2 separate regions of the Homo sapiens genome follow, and region 2 is linked to region 1. The links are contacts of gene promoters, found by promoter capture Hi-C in blood cells and fetal thymus (Javierre and others, 2016). All regions are on one chromosome and are shown on one strand. The core of a region is centred on a gene start or on the middle of the fragment in contact, and the rest is flanking DNA. Distances in the headings are between cores, read along the strand shown.

Region 1 (5,560 bases), core at 439-2,938:
CCTGTTAACCTTACAAATGCGAGGCTTGTCTTAATCTCTGGAAGTATCAGCTTTAAAATCTGCAGTTTTAAAAGTGGTCATCTGCGCAGTACTCGAAGGCCTTTCAAAACACAGGTGCTGAACACCTCCTTCTTTAAGATACCTTATCTACGGTAGGATGTTCCTAATCACACGGAGGCCGGCCAAACTCTGGGCACCGCAAACCCACGATAAAAACAAATGCTGGGCCAAGACCTTGTCCAGAAACAGGCCTCAGTACTGCCTGGACTTAGGATGAGTCTGTAGGACTGTAAATGCTTGGAAGGCCAGCCTTTACTCCCAAGTCCAAGCGTAGTCTCCCTGCATGCCCCAGACCTTTCCCCCATCCACGCCACACGACACGACACGATCAGGGCGGGACAATTATTTTTCTTTAAACTCCTTCTGCCCGCGCCGCCCAAATTACAGGCCCGATCGCCGCGTTTAAAAGGCATCCTATGGCTCGGGAGTGTCAGGTGGCCGGGCCGGCACCCTCCAGCATCCTCGCGAACCGCGTTATCGGTGCCGCACTCGGGGCTGACACGCTCGGGGCGGCCCGGACTCAACGGGCGGCAAATCCTTGGCCACCCGGACGGGCCGATCGGCCCCTTTGTAAGATGAAGTTCCAGACGAGGCCCATTGTTCAGTTACATAATCTCAACGGACAACCTCGGGGCAGGGCCAAACACAAGGGCTGCCAACTTTGGGGGGCGGCGCAGGAAAGCGAGGGGGGAGCGGCCGGCCGCTTCTGTAACCGAACCCAGGCAGCGGCGCTGGCCCCTCCGGCGCCGCGGCCCCGGCCGCCGGGTGCCCGCGCCCGCCGCTCTCACCTTGGGCGTGTGCGGGGTGTCGAAGAGTCGCAGCTTGCGGAAGGTCTTGTGTGGCGGGGTGCCCGGGTGGTCCGGCCGCGGCGAGCGGCGGCCTTCGCCCGCCCGGCGCGCCCCGCAACCCCGCGGCGACGCATCTCCTGGGCCGCCGCAGCGCACCGGCGAGAAAGAGCTACCCAGGAAGTAGGGGGCCGCCGGCGACTTGACCGGCGACGAGGAGCCGAAGCCCTCCTCCTCCCACGAGTCGCCCTCCGCCCCACCGCCCGCCTCGTCCGCGCCCGGGCAGGCGCCGGGCAGCAACAGGTCCTCCTCCAGCTCGCCGGGGCTGCCGGGGGCCGGCCCGGGCGAGCGGCGGCGCTCGGGCCCGGGCTCCGTGGGGCTCCGCGCGGGCGGCAGCGGCGAGTCGGGCTCTTGAAAGGCCGAGTCCTCCCCGGTGCTGTGGCCGCTGCCCTCCTCCTCCTCCTCTTCTTCCTCCTCCTCACAGTCGCTGCAGGGCGAGAAGATCAGCTTCTGCCGCAAGGTGCAGGCCGCCCCGGCGCGGCGGGGTGGCGGCGGCTGCTGTCGGCTCAGGAAGCTCATCGCGGCCCTGGGGACGGGGCCGAGGACAGGAGAGCGGAGGCCTGCGGGGTCCAGGACACTGCGGGCCTGGGGGCGGGTCCGCCACGTGCGGCTGGGCGCGCCTAGTCGCAGCCGCGGCGTCTCTGCGCGGCGGCGGCCTGCGGCTCCGGGGCGCTCGGGCTGCGGACGGTGGCGGCAGCGGCGGCGCGGACTTTCCGGCAGAGGCGGGGCGGCCCGAGCACCGAGGCTGAGGTCTCCTCAGGTCCAGTCTCAGGTTCGGGCTCCGCGGCTTCCCGCGACCGTTAACCACGTGAGTGCCCAGTCCACCAATCCCAGTGCAGCTCCGGGTTTGAAAAAAAAAGGAGGGCGCGACGTAGCCCGCGGGGGAAGGACCAGCTACGCGATTTTGGCGGGAACCCGCTGGCTCCACCCCCGGCTCGGCGCCAGCCAAGTCTGGGCGGGCTGTGGTGTTCCGGGCCTATGAGCGAGCCTGGGGCGGCGGGGGGCCCGGCCCGGCGCCGCCCGAACACCGCCCGGACGGGGCTGGGCCTTCTGGGAGGGGCAAAAGAGAGCTGGATTCGCCTAAGCCGACCCGAAAGCCGGCCTGGACGCACCCCCCTCGCTGCTCCTCCGGTGCTGGGGGATCTGAAGAGGGGCAGGCGGCCGGGCAGCGCCTCCGGGTCTCTGCGAGCTGGGAAGAGCCAGGGACCGAATGGCCTTCGGCCGCTGCCCTCGGAGGCCGCTTCTTGCCCCTCGTCCCCTGGGGCGAGCCACTGGGGCGTAGTGGGCGTGGCAGTGGGCAGCCACGTTCAGGGTCGAGGTCTGAGCCGGAAATGGTGACTCGGGCCTCGGGACCTTTCTGAACTGCGGGAGCCGATGTGCTTAGGCTGGACACTGGCTGGGAGGAGGCCTCCGAGCCCCATTATTTCCCCGGGGTGGGTGACTGTTAGGGGCGGGTGTCAGCACAGCGAGAAGAGCTCTCCCAAGCAGGGGTCCACCTCTGCCGACCTTGTCCGCGGCCAAAAGAAACAGCAGCACAGTTGCCCACCACGAAACCAAGTGCCCGGCACACGATCTCCGTGTTTACATTTGTTCGCCAGCACGTGGGCATGCGTTGGCAAAACCGATTGGCCCGGCTCGCGGCAAACTCAAACGCAATTTTAAAAAATTTCCCTAGTGCTTCGTTAAACTGATTTAATCTGTCCCTTAATGCACTTACACGTTTCTTCCAGTTTTCTTTTTTCTTTCTTTGTTTATTTATTTTTTTTTTTTTTTCTGAGACGGGGTCTTGCTCTGTCACCCAGGCTGGAGTGCAGTGGCACGATCTCGGCTCACTACAACCTGCAACCTCCGCCTTTAGAGTTCAAGCGATTCTCATGCCTCAGCCACCCGAGTAGCTGGGATTACAGGCGGCTGCCACCACACCTGGCTAATTTTTGTATTTTTAGTAGAGACGAACTTCCCAATGTTGGCCAGGCTGGTCTCCAACTCCTGATCTCAAGTGATCCGCCCGCCTCGGCCTCTCAAAGTGCTGGAATTACAGACGTGAACCACCGCTCCCGGCCTCTTCCAGTTTTCTGTTGTAAACAACCCCGTGGTGTATATGCTTCCTTCTCCATGTTTTTTGTTTGGTTTGGTTTTTTTCGACACGGAGTCTCGCTCTGTCGCCCCAGGCTGGAGTGCAGTGGCGCGATCTCGGCTCACTGCAGCCCCCACCTCCCGGGTTCTCGGGTTCCAGCGATTCTCCTGTCTCCCGGGTAGCTGGTATTACAAGCACATACCAGGCCTGGCCAATTTTTGTATTTTTACAAAATGCAAAATACGGAGTTTCACCATGTTGGCAGGCTGGTCTCAAACTCCTGACCTCAGGTGATCTGCCCGCCTCGGCCTCCCAAAGTGCTAGGATTACAGGCGTGAGCCACCGCGCCTGGCCTTTTTAAAATACTCTTTTGGATACCTCCCTGGAGTTAGAATTCCTCAGTCAAAGGATATAAACTGGCAAACTCCCCCTCCAGAAACACAATACATTCTCACTAGCAGTGGATTAGAGCACACTCTGTGAATTCAGGACATCAGTGGATGTTCGTTGATGTGGTTTTGTTGTTTTGATTCATATTGTTGAACAGTTGTCATGGGTTTAATGATAATTTACATTTATCTCTATTGCCTATTTTTCTTATTGTTAGCACTTTATGCATATTAACACTTTGTCATATATGTTGTTCTAATGCTTTTCAAAGGCTAAATAAACTCAAGCTGAATTTTTCTTGAAACACACGGTAGTACTTAACACATCAAATCGGGAATTTCCTGAGATCACACAACTGAAGACACAGTGAAGGATCAACAGCTGTCTTTTCTCCTAACATTTGCTAACTGGTGTATAAATGTGTTTTTTATATGGTCATGCAAACTTAATTTTAAGCTCTTGGAGGACAAGAATTCTAGACTTGTATAAGGAGAGTTAGTCAATGATCCACAGTGGCCAAAGCCAAGGAGTGATTTTCAGAACCCTTGCTCCAACACTTCCCCTCCTGCCACTCCTTTTTTTTAAATTTTTATTTTTCGAGACAGGGTCTCACTCTGTCCACCCTGTCTCAAAGTGGAGTACAGTGGTGCAATCACGGCTCTGTAGCCTCGATCTCCCCAGGCTCAAGAGATCCTCCCACCTCACCCTCCCAAATAGCTGGGACTAATGATGTGTGCTACCACGCCCAGCTAATATTTGCATTTTTAGTAGAGACTCTGTTTCACCATGTTGCCCAGGCTGGTCTAGAACTCCTGGGCTCAAGCAATCTGCCCGTCTCCGTCTCCCAAAGTGCTGGAATTACAGGCATGAGCCACCATATTGCCCAGGCTGTGGGCCCCCTCCTGCCACTCCTGATGACAAATATAATTATTTGATATAATTGACATTTTCTCAATTTATTATGAAGCATAAATAAAAATAGAGAACCCTACTTTTATCGATCTGTAACATAAACTGCATGTGAAAATAGTGTGCTTTCTAAGTAAATGGGACTTTAAAGCCCTTTAGTTGCCTCTCCACAACTAGACTGATGCTCCTAAACTCCTCCTATGTAAGAATTCCGTATCTCTGTTCTCACGTCCCCTCCCTCACTCTTTGCTCTTTCACAACACCTGGCTTTATTTCCTTAGCAGGCTTATTTCTATCTCAAAGTACGTTGTTAGTTTATTACTATCTCCTTCTAGAAAAATAAGGTCCCCGAGGGTAGGGGACCCTTGTTTATTGCAGTATTCTAACGTGGATTAGGCGTTCACTCCCTTGTGAGTGATAAAAGAGCCCTTATTTAAATAATTGTTGGTTTATTCGCTTCCTAAATTGGCACATTTGCAGATAAGTTTGCCTATTTAAGATTTTGAATCGGGTGTGGTAGTTGTTCACACCTGCAATCCCAACACTTTGGGAGGTCAAGACAGGAGGATCACTTGAGGCCAGGAGTTCAAGACCAGCCTGGACAACATAGTGAGACCTCACCTCTACTAAAAATTTAAAAATTAGCTGGGCATGGTGTCACATGCCTGTGGTCCCAGCTACTCAGGAGGCTGAAGTGGGAGGATCCCTTGAGCCTGAGAGATGAAGGCTGCAGTGAGCTGTGATTGTGCCACTGCACTCCAGCCTAGGCAGCAGACCGAGAACTATCTCAGGAAAAAAAAAAAAAAATTGAACAGAGATCACCACTCTAGTACTCTATTTAATGCAAGATTGTAGAGGTAGCAGCCATCACACTTCCTATTTTTCCCCATGGTTTTTCCCCACTCCAGTAACAAAAACTTAAATGGTACAAAATTCTCCCACCTATCCCTTCAAATCCCAGCCCAGTTCCCCTTCCTGAAGGTAAACACTCTTAACAATGTTTTGTTTTGTTTTGTCAACTCCTACTTTGCCACCTGTCTGCGTCCCTAAATGGGAGGTCTTTGAAGTAGGCTAAGGCAGGCAGAAGGGCTTGGGTTGTGGATGGGAAGGGAAGAGTTCTTGGTCCACAGACCCAGGACTTTGAAGTCCTCACACAGAATCGAAGAGGTAAGTTCACAATAAATGTGTAGAATGATTGGGGGAAATAATTTTTTTTTTTTTTTTCCTTGAGACAAGGGTTTGCTCTATTGCCCAGGCTGGAGTGCAGTGGTGCGTTCAC
Region 2 (5,132 bases), core at 335-2,834, 750 kb before region 1:
GCTAGCCTGGGAACCTTGCCACACTGCATAACATTGCTCCTCCTGGGGAATGTCTTCCGAGTTCTAAAGGACAGATTTGCAAATAGACTTCTGGAGTACAGCCCCATCCACTGCTGGGAACTGCCTTTGTTTGACTTGTTTATTCAGGAGAGCTTCTCTGGACTTTCACCCAGCCGCTGCCTGGCAGGAGGTGACCTGGCTTTAGCCAACAGTGGGTGGGGACAGCAGGAGAGCAGCTTCTGCTCAGTGCTAACTGGACACAAAGCTATACCATAGGAAGGGGGAAGGGCAGAGTATTCAAAGGCCATAAGACAGCTAGTCTTTGACAAGGGACCTCATTTAAGGAGCATGAGTCTCCCTGTCTCACTTCTACCTGGTGGAAGAGTGAGACAAAATTAACTTACATGACTTGAAAGGCTTTTGCAATTTTTGAGGGCCACTGAGTATAAATTTTCCAATAAGCAGCTGTTGGCTTTTGTTCCTGCTGAGGTCTCTCACAAGGCAGCATCAGGTTTGAGTGTCATGGCCTGCCATGGCCCCACTGGCCTTGAGGGTTTCTGTGGCCTATTTTAAGCAATTTTACTGTTCATGGTCCTGGCAAACATATCCATTTTTCTGACAATATTTATAGTCTGATGTAAGTGTGAACTAGATAATGACCTTTTCAAGTCATGGCACAATGTTCTGTTTAAAGTTTTCATTTTTTTGCTCAGAACATCTGCAAGATCCTTTGACCCTTCTGCATGGTCTCTTGGAGATTTTCCTAACTTTCTGACCACTTGTGGGGATAGAGGGGTGAATGATGGGCAGACCCTTCACGTGTCTTGGGTCATGTGAGCATCTGAGCCTACAGAGAACACTCCTTTTGCTTCTGAAGCTCTTGCAGCCCGTTCTGAGAAATGTAATGCTGACCAGTTCATCTCAGGCATTTCTTTCTCTCCGGACATTATAGGATCACCCTCAAAACACGTGTGAGGGCACATACATCATCAGCTTCCCATAGTGAGTAGTTCCTAGGACTTGGATAACATTTCAAGCTTGACATGGCTAAAACAATACCATATCTGCAGTTAACTTTAGGTGACTCACCAGAAGAGCTATTTTAAACAAATTTGTAGCGACTAAGATTACATTTGTTCTATGAAAAACAGACTGAAAGGACAAAAGGCTAATGCAATATTTTTGAAACGCTCTTTTTAAGCTCAATGAAGTCCTGCTGTATTTTCTTGACAGCATCCTAGTTACCAGGCATAACAGGAGGGGCAATAACTGGTATCTAAACCACTCAAGAAACAAGCATGTCTTGACACCATCCAGCAGGAGTATATGTTCATCAGAAGACAGGTTTGTAGAAATAGTGATGGCCATGTTCATCTAGTCACCAGGGATTCTAATGTATTCCCTTTCAAAATAATATTGGTCAGGCTAGAGCTCTGGTAGCCTTGTGAAGGGTATGGTTTACCAGTCACCTGGCCTGCCTTAAGGTCATCTTCAGTTCTCCTGGCAATTACTATACTCTCTTCTCTATCCCAGAGTGCAGACACATTTCTGTATTTAGTTCAAAGAAAATCAACAGCACAAATTCATAGGGATTCCTGACAAAGCCAGAAGGTCAGAGCTAGAAGCAGATTGGGGCTTCTAGCTCTGACCTTTCAGCTGAGACAAGATTTCTAAGGGGAGAAGAATGAACAGATGTGAGGAATGGGGTGCTCTCATGCTACTCAAATGAAGCACAAAGGTAAACACCAACCTCATTATTCTCCTGAGAAGTTGCTTATTTTCCTGGGGTGGGGAACCTGGGGGCAGGCAGAACCTTCAAGGCCTGAGAACTATCAAGAGACTCTTTAGGAGGCGAGGAGAAGCTGAAACCACTATCCCAACCCAGTTCTCCTGAGTTTTCCTTCCTGCTTCGGGTTTCCCACTTCATTTCCCATTGCCGTGGCATCATGTCAGCCCCTACCTGTGAGGAGATACTGACATTTCTTTAGTGTTATACAAACTCCTTCCCTGAACTCTTCTTCACATAGCTGAGATAGGCTGGAACTTTTCCAAAGCCTTTACAAAATACTGAGGGAGAACAACGGGGACATAAACAAGAAAATACATGAAGCATAAACATGGTCAAGCTTGTGCAATATGTTAACAATCATAATATTTAGGGAATGAGACACAGAAGGGAGAAATGTTGTACATAATAACCTTGTTTGATAATTTTTAGGAACTGTATATACTTTATAAGTAATACACATTTATTTTGACATATACAGTATTAATTTTGGTCCTACCATAGCATTCTAGCTCCCATGGTTCACTCCACTTACAGACTTTCCACCTGATTAACTCTGAGACTCTTCCTTCTGTTCCTTTCTATCCCCGTCCCTCCCCAACAGGTCTCACGAACCTTCTGGGAAGAACAACGGGTGATAAGTTTGACCATTCAGTCAATAAATGTGCCAGCTATAATGCCAGACACAGTGATAAGCCATCAGTTACCTTCAATGCTTATCGATACCACTCAAATGCCTTTTCTCTTTGATAGGAGAAAAGACCAAGGGTCATTTCCTTAACACTTCTTTCTGTGTCCATCTAAAAAGTCACTTAGAATTATATGAAAACACACTTAATAGACTCAGTAATCTCTGCCAAGAAAAAGATCTTGGTTGAAAGAATTCTCAGCTACAACAATGACTGCAATCAAAAAGAACTCATTTACATACAAATGGATCTTCCCAAAGAAGGCAAAAAGGAAAATCCCACTTTCTGATTTGGAGCAGCAACAAGCCACTAATATAGTCAAGGCAAGGCAGCCTCTGTCCTCTGGATGCCTCCAATAAGATGACTAAGGGCTTTATCAAGCCCATCTAAGCTTATGACTATATTAATGCTCCAGTGCTCTTTATTTGAGCTCCGAGGAGCCACTGTTTTCCTCATCCCTCTCATCATCTAACCTGAGCTCAAGTATTCTCACCTGGGTGTGATTCAAATGGAGCTAGCCTTTACTTTCCTGGACACTCGTCTTCCTTAATCTGCCTCAGTTTCCTCAAGGAAGACAAAGATAAAACATCTGGAGACACCACAAATGAACCTCATCACAAATGAACCTCAAGCTGAGAAGAGCACTTCTGAGAGGCACTTCCAATACCACCCACTGACACCCAGCAGAGAATAGTCTGTGCTTGGGGAATTTACCTACTGCTACAGTTTTCAGACATCATTGGCCCATAAAGAAAAGACACTTAAACCTATAAGCCTCCTGGGTTTTGCTCTGGAGCCTCACTGGTCAGAGCCTTGCGTGAACTCCCTTGGAAAGTTGTCTGGGATCAAGGAGTCTGCCCTTGAGTCTCAGCAAGGGATGAGGGAGGCAGGACTTAATGGACTGAAAGAGAGAAGCCACCCATGTGGTCCAACAGTTCATCCTAGGAAATGACAGTCCAGTTGGTACACAACTACATAAACTTATATTCCAAAATCCCCCAAATTCACCACCAAGGCACTTGGCTAAGATAACCAATATACAATCAACCTAGAACCGTTTCAAGAATTTATTCCTAAAGAAACAGCAGGTGGCAGCAGAGTTTTACATTTTTTTTTTTTTTTTTTGCCCTTTGGACTGGAATGAAAACAAAGTGTCACGGAATAATCTCCTCATCTCTGAGTCAGCCAATTGGCCCAGAAACGGGCATATTGCCGTCTTGTAACGTGAAGAGTATAGCATCTTCTCAGAGTGGGCTCTGTGCACTTTGACAAGAGAATACAACATCACCCGCCACCCCCAGGCCAGAGACCTGCCTGGTTCTGTAGGCCAAGTAGGAAAATGACTGCCCCAGAATGACCAGATCACAGAGGCTGTGGCCCTGAGTTTCATATTCATTTTCCCAGTATCAAGGTGTTGCTCATTTACAATGTGGAGGCCCTCAAAGAAAACTGAGTATGATTAAGTGGAAGAATGCCTAGGAATTGAGTATACACCTCACAGCATTTTCACCATCTATTATGATATAATCCATGGCAGAAATGTAGGGGCAAAAAAAAGTGGAAAAGGGGAGTTAATAAAATCTGGTTTCTGGTGTACTTAGAGATTTAGAGATCTCTGAAAGCTGCATCACCACCCCACAGCTGCTGCAGCTTGGGCTCAGGAGCAGGCAGTGCCAAGACCACTGTCTGCTTTGGCCTCAAATACCTTCCTTGACTTAGTATTGTGCTTGGCTCCCAACTTCCAAGTTGTAGCTGGAAAGTTTCCATTGTCACAGTGTAGCACCAGAGTTGGAACCCAAGTTTTTGCTGAATTGTTTTGCAGAGCAAATCCAGTTTTGCCTTTAAGAAGTGACTGGTCAGCCGGGAGCAGTGGCTCACGCCTGTAATCCCAGCACTTTGGGAGGCCGAGGCAGGCAGATCACGAGGTAAGGAGATCAAGACCATCCTGGCTAACATGGTGAAACCCTGTCTCTACTAAAAATACAAAAAATTAGCTGGGCGTGGTGGCAGGCGCCTGTAGTCCCAGCTACTCAGGAGGCTGAGGCAGGAGAATGGCGTGAACCCGGGAGGCGGAGCTTGCAGTGAGCCGAGATTGCGCCACTGCACTCCAGCCTGGGTGACAGAGCGAGATTCCGTCTCAAAAAAAAAAAAGAAGTGACTGGTCAGTTTGTTCCATCCCAAAATGGTGATTCAGAACTCTCTCAGACACACCTTAGACTGAGATACTTTTTTTTTTTTCCCCTTAGATTAGAGAAGGAGGATTTCCTTATGTTGCCCAGGCTGGTCTTGAACCCTTGACCTCAAGCAAGGCTCCTGCCTCAGCCTACCAAAATGCTGGGATTACAGGCCTGAGCTGCCTCACCCAGGCTGAGATGTTTAATTTCCATCCAAGAGGAAACTTTCTTATCATTTAAAGTAGAAATGGAAGGATGGAAGAAGGTGGGGGTAGGGCTGGAGGAATTTTAATTGTTATTATTTTTTTTAAGTATGAAACTTGTTCAGGAAAAAGATAAAGTTAAGGACCTTGTCTCCAGGATCCCAAACAGATTTTGCAAACATATATTTGTGGGTTTTCTTTTTGGAAGTAGAGTTGACAGAAAAGTGAGTAGCTTTAACTCTGTAGCAACACAACTCCTGGTGACCAAAGAGAACATTCC

The links. The method cuts DNA at HindIII sites, captures the fragments that hold promoters and counts their contacts. A CHiCAGO score of 5 or more calls a contact.
Region 2: a contact is called between a fragment that was not itself captured here and the fragment with the promoter of WEE1 in region 1, in 3 of 17 cell types (total B cells, activated CD4 T cells and fetal thymus). The highest score is 6.2, in total B cells.

The regions. Positions count from the first base shown.
Region 1 is chr11:9,569,798-9,575,357 of GRCh38, reverse strand. WEE1 (WEE1 G2 checkpoint kinase) reads right to left here and starts at 1,688. Exons shown (of 11, transcript NM_003390.4): 1 at 849-1,688. The coding sequence starts at 1,424. RefSeq lists silencers at 1,066-1,165, 1,456-1,665, 1,686-2,035 and an enhancer at 1,610-2,462. The HindIII fragment of the contact is 14,841 bases long and covers 1-5,560 here.
Region 2 is chr11:10,321,640-10,326,771 of GRCh38, reverse strand. All of the region lies in intron 1 of CAND1.11 (a long non-coding RNA gene), which reads right to left. Among named protein-coding and RNA genes, the nearest start is that of CAND1.11, 16 kb to the right of the region's middle. The HindIII fragment of the contact is 1,089 bases long and covers 1,040-2,128 here.